Linked DNA regions of Homo sapiens: region 2 is linked to region 1. Evidence: promoter capture Hi-C in 16 types of primary human blood cells and fetal thymus (Javierre and others, 2016). All regions are on one chromosome and are shown on one strand. The core of a region is centred on a gene start or on the middle of the fragment in contact, and the rest is flanking DNA. Distances in the headings are between cores, read along the strand shown.

What was found. The method cuts DNA at HindIII sites, captures the fragments that hold promoters and counts their contacts. A CHiCAGO score of 5 or more calls a contact.
Region 2: a contact is called between the fragment with the promoter of BIRC6 here and a fragment that was not itself captured in region 1, in 2 of 17 cell types (fetal thymus and non-activated CD4 T cells). The highest score is 6.3, in fetal thymus.

Annotation. Positions count from the first base shown.
Region 1 is chr2:30,148,737-30,151,505 of GRCh38, forward strand. The region is part of intron 1 of YPEL5 (yippee like 5); the gene reads left to right. Among named protein-coding and RNA genes, the nearest start is that of YPEL5, 3.1 kb to the left of the region's middle. The HindIII fragment of the contact is 2,989 bases long and covers 1-2,769 here.
Region 2 is chr2:32,355,701-32,358,469 of GRCh38, forward strand. It overlaps BIRC6 (baculoviral IAP repeat containing 6), which reads left to right and starts at 1,323. Exons shown (of 74, transcript NM_016252.4): 1 at 1,323-1,786. The coding sequence starts at 1,462. RefSeq lists enhancers at 994-1,506, 2,021-2,533 and silencers at 1,010-1,379, 1,540-1,769. The HindIII fragment of the contact is 6,861 bases long and covers 814-2,769 here.

The DNA of each region.
Region 1 (2,769 bases), core at 92-2,591:
TATTTAAGTAATGAGAAAAATAAACAGGTTTAGAAAAAAGTGAAAGGAAATAAGGCCAAAAATTATGAAAAGAAGTAATTAAAGCAGCTACTACCCTCTGAAAAACAGTCCACGAGACATGAAGGTAGTCCTAGGTATATGTGTGCCTAAAATATCATTCTAGGTTTAATGGTGAATAACTATAGAGATCAGTGTCAGTTTTAAGATAATCCTGTGTAGTAATGTCAGTGTAATGCAGGAACTGAACCTTAGCTAGACCTGAAGTTGCTACTTGACACTTGAGTCGGGAAGCCAGACAGGTAAATTACACGTCAATCCATCTAGTTAGAGGCTTTTGGTATTGCATCACAACAAACGAGACCATGAAATTGTCTTGCTAGGGTTTAGCGGGGGATGACCAACTCAGATTGTGCACTAACACACAAGGTTTCCTGAGTGAAATGACTAGTCTTATTTTCTAATATTTAAATATAAGTGTTATTGAAATATAGTGAACTTGAAAGTCATCTAACAAAACAGGAAAAAATAAGGCATTATTGAGGGGGGAGAACAAAAATATATCCTTAAAACGTACTGCAAATGAAGACCTGATTCCACAACAGGACATCATTTGACACAGCAAAGTAAACTGGTCACGTACTGCAAGAGGAAAGCAGAGCTTGCTTGTGTCACTGAAAACTTAGCTTGTTATATATTTTGCACAAAAATTGGAAAGTTGATTGTATGGATCAAACTGTTTTCCCATGTAGATTTTTTAATAGCGTTTAGTCACAACTCAGTATAAAGAGTTGATGAAATTACAATAGCAGTAAGTGCTGATTATTATAGTAATCAACCCAGCACTCTTAAAAGTTATTTGGGTTTTTATCCTTTGTTTTGGCGAGGGAAGAGATTAAAAACGAGATAGGAAAGCTGGCTTCCACGGGATTCCATTTTAGCAGAGTCATTGCGAAACAAAACCACCTCTGCAAGGGGCAGGTTCCTTTAACCCTTTCTGCGCTAGATGCCTGCATACTCAGTTCCCTGCAGCAGTCTTTGTACCTTGCCTTTGTCCCATCTTCTGATGCAATGGAAAACCCACTGTGGTCTGTCCAACACTGGGGATCTGGTGAAGTGTGTATTCTATGGAAATGCCCTGAGGCGATGGTTTCATTTACTAAGGAAAAGTTTATCTGTGAACTGGGTGTTTTTCCGTCAGAAGGTTCTATGAGATGCGAATAGATACCTACCCTCCCTGGTATTTTTAGGGCTGGGAAGTGGTGCCTCCCTTGACTAATTCCACTTACCAGGGTTGAAACCAAACTGGATTATTAATTATAGGGACAACAAGTACCTATTTTAAGACCCAGAACTGTGACATGCTTCAGAAGGTTTCTAACTTTCCTCCAGCTTCTGATTTCTATCACCTGGTTGCTTAGCTTTAGCATAATTAGCAGGAAGTGAAGCCAGTTAATTGTTATTGTTTCATATCCTTTGTGAGCCATGCTTTTCTCATCTGTCATAGGGTGAGTTGGGATGGGGAATGTTGAAGAAGATAATCTAGTTTTACTGACCTTTATTGAGCATTCACTGTGTGCTAGGCACCGTTCTCAGAATACAGTATCTCCACTTAATTTCTCATAACTCAGAGGTGGCTGCTGCTCTCACCATTTTACAGATGAAACAGGAGAGGATAACTCACCCAGTGTTTCCAAAGCTATTAAGGGGGAAGAGCTGAGATTTGAACCTAGGAATCTCCAGAATTCAAGTATCTGAGCTCCACAGTTTAAGTCCTGGGGGTGGAGAGAGGAGAGAGCAGCTGGTAGATATTATCTATTTTTATAATCTTTATTAGAGTTGATCTTCAACATGCTGAACTGGTTACGGAAAGTTAAGGATTTTAGCTAGAAAATCAGTAAAGAAAAGGGGAATGGGATTAAACTGATCTTTTCAAATACTCCTATCTAGCTTTAATCCCAAATGCCAACCAAGTTTCCATTTTTTCTGGGAAAGACTGCTTTCTAAATGCAAAGCTCTTTCACTATCAGAATGTGTTTTTAAGCAGGGAAAACTTTTTTTTGGTAAAGGGCCAGGTAAAAAATATTTTAAACTTTGCAAGCCAGAAGGTTTCTGTAGCAGCTCCTCATACCTCTTCATTGTAAAGTGGAAGGAGTAAAGTGTAAACAAATGGGCGTGGCTGTGTTCCTAAAAACTTTGACACTCAAGTGTGAATGTCATATATCTTGTGTCAGAAAATATTCTCCCCTCCCCCCAACCATTTAAAAGTACAAAATTCATTCTCAGCTTGTGGGCAGTACAGAAACAGGTGGCGAGCTGAATTGACCCACAGCCTTCCCAGCTTTTAAGGAAAACAGTCAGCAATGAGCCAGACAAGTGAACAAGATACCGTATTTCGCTTGATAGTGTATGTGTAAAATAAACCAATAGTCTTTTTAGAAAATTGTTTTATTGATGTGGAAGCAAACTAGGAAATTATGTAGTCCATCATATCCATCATGCATTTTAAAATAATGCATTCCTGGAGACTCTTTGGCTCTGAAGAGAATCATCTTTTTTTTTCCCCTCTTACAGATTCTGTAATTAAAAAAAAAAATTCTGTAACAAGGCAGAGATCCTAAAATGTTATTAATATTTCACCAGAGTCTTCTGATAAAAGAGAAATTGGAAGTTGTAGATAGCTAAATATGCTATTGGTGAGAGAGGGAGGAAATTGAAAATAATACTAAAGTACGATCTATGAAATTATCTATAAATTTCACTTATATTTTC
Region 2 (2,769 bases), core at 73-2,572, 2.2 Mb after region 1:
TCTCTGGCAGGCCCAGGAACTTCAGTGTATTTTAGGGACCCCCAAGAAGAGAGGAATACAGTCAAATCTCTAAGTGTTTCAGATGTAGCCTGATGGCTAATAGTTTAAGATGTAGTTCAGGTAATCCATGAAGATTTCCTGAAGGAAGTTCGCATGAATGTGAGAGGGCAATTAACTTTTATAATTTTTATTGAGCACGTAGTATATACTTGTCAGATGCTCTTCTACACATTTTACAAATGATTCTTAATCCTCACAACAGATCTTTGATTAGGTTTTTAAGGAAAACTAGTTCTTTCCAAAATAACCTAATGATCACAAAACATATAGAACATACAACTCTGCATCTTGACTATGGTGCGTAGGTCTACATGTGATAAAATGACATTGAACTATACACACATCATACAACTATCAAATCCCTCCTTTTGAGATTGTACTAGAATTATGTAATATGCAACCATTGGGGGAAACTGGGTAAAGAGTAAATTGGATCTCTCTGTACTATCTTTGAGTAGTGTTTAGGTATTTTATAAAAATAATGTCCTACAGTTTGGGTTTGTCAAATGGTTTTCTCATAGTTAGATAGGGGTTATGGCTTTTGGAGAGAAAGACCACAGAGGTCTGTAGTATATTTTCAACTGTAATCTATTTCAAAATAAAAAGTTTTAAAAAAATTCTCCAAGGGGGGATGATTAGTAAATTGATTAGTCCTTTCTAGACCTCCAACACACCCCACCACACACTCACACAGACCCACACTCCTATTAATTCCGGTAACTCGGGTTGTTTGGAATGTGGATAGAGAAACTAAGCTTAACTATGCGCTTCCAGCACCTCGTATCTGGTACTTCTGTTCAACAGAAAGCCTTGGGAATGGGGAGGGCAGGCGTGGTAAAAGGTACAGGTTTGGGAAGGTCGCTCGGTTCCTTCCAATCCAAACGAGAGGCTTCTGATTGTTTATTCTCACACCAGAGCCGTGACCGAGACCCAGAGGTCCGCTTCCGGCCACGGCCGAACAGCTGCACCGTGCGTACCGGGAACGGTCAAGGCGCAGCTGGAACCGCTGCAAAAGGCCTCCGGGCGTACCGGACAGGTCGCAAGGGCGGGGGTCCCCACCTAGCGGAAATGCACGGAGGCCAACCCCTCCCCCTGCCCCCGCGAGGAGCGGGGCGGACTCGGCAGCCGCCACTCCCCAGGCTCACAGGAAGAAACTGGGACGCTGCGGACGCGGAACTGGCCAGACCCGCGGCGCGTGGCACGCGCGAGCCCTCCCGCGCATGCTCCACCCGCCGGCCTCCAGCCCGCGCCCCGGGCCCCGCCTCCCTCCCTGCTTCTCCCCCTCTCCCGTCAGCCTCCCTCCGAGTTTGGCCCCTCCGGCCGGGCGATCGACGTTCCGCGTGCGTGCGGGCGCCTGACTTCACTTCCGGCTAACGCGCTCGGCTTGCCCCCTGGCCCCGGATGGTGACTGGTGGTGGTGCTGCACCTCCCGGGACTGTCACTGAGCCGCTTCCCAGTGTGATTGTGCTGAGCGCAGGCCGGAAGATGGCGGCTGCGGCTGCGGCGGCCTCGGGCCCCGGCTGCTCCTCGGCGGCGGGGGCGGGGGCGGCCGGGGTCTCAGAGTGGCTGGTGCTGCGGGACGGCTGCATGCACTGCGACGCCGACGGGCTGCACAGCCTGTCCTACCACCCTGCGCTCAACGCCATCCTGGCCGTCACTAGCCGCGGGACCATCAAAGTCATCGACGGCACCTCGGGGGCCACACTGCAGGCCTCCGCGCTCAGTGGTGAGTCTTCCGCACGCCGGGCGGGCGCGAAGCCGGGGAAAGAAGCCGTCCAGCCCCGGGGCTCGGCCTCGCGACTCGGGGAAGCGAGATGGCGAGAGGGCAGGGCTGGGGGTTCGGGCCCAGCCGTGAAGGGAGGCCCGGAAGCTGATGGAGGGGGACCTTAGGACTTGGCTTTTTCAGCGGCTGCAGTTGGGAGGAAAGACCGGCGAGTCAGGGAGTGGTGGGAGGGGAGTTGCCTTTCGGGCCTGGAGCGTCCGGTCTGGCTTGGTCCTCCGCGAGAGGTGAGGAGACCTTGGAGCTTGGCACCGGAGGAAGCGAGGCCCGGGTAGGCCCTGGAGAGGCTGTCGGTCCTGCGTCCGGTTAGATGAGAGCGAAAGGCTGGAAGGGTTGACCCCGGGCGGAGAGGCTGGTGGCCGGAGGCGAGGGGCGGGGAGCGTCTGAGCCGGCAACCAAGCCCTCCCTTGTGGGAGAGGAGCCGGCAGTCTGCTGTTCTCAGGTCCCGCAGTGCGGGGGACAGACCGCGGGCTGTGCGCCCAGCGTGGGGGTGGGGGTGGGGTGGGGGTGGGGTGGGTCGTGGTGGGGGTGGGGAGGGAAGTAGGCGGGCCAGCTGCCTGAACTGCTTGGTCGACGACTGTAGGACTCTGCGGACGCCGAAGACGACTAGACCTGGTCCCCTTGCTCGGGGCTTCCAACTTCTACGCCCCAGTGACGAGAAAGTCAGGACCTGTGGTGTATGAAATAGATTCCTTTGGGTTTGTAACTTCAGGCTGTCTCTACTTGTTTTCCCACAGCGAGCCGAAAATTAGGATTTGAAGGTGTGTCTGAGTCTCACCATTGGAGGAGAGCACTTCTGGGTGGCGTAAACCTTGGTCCAGGGACGGGACTTTCAGATGCGTGAGGTGTATGCTCAGTGGACGGACTGGAGTGGTTTTGGAATGGCCCTGGCTGAGTTAGATTTGGCGGAGATGACATTTCATTTGTGG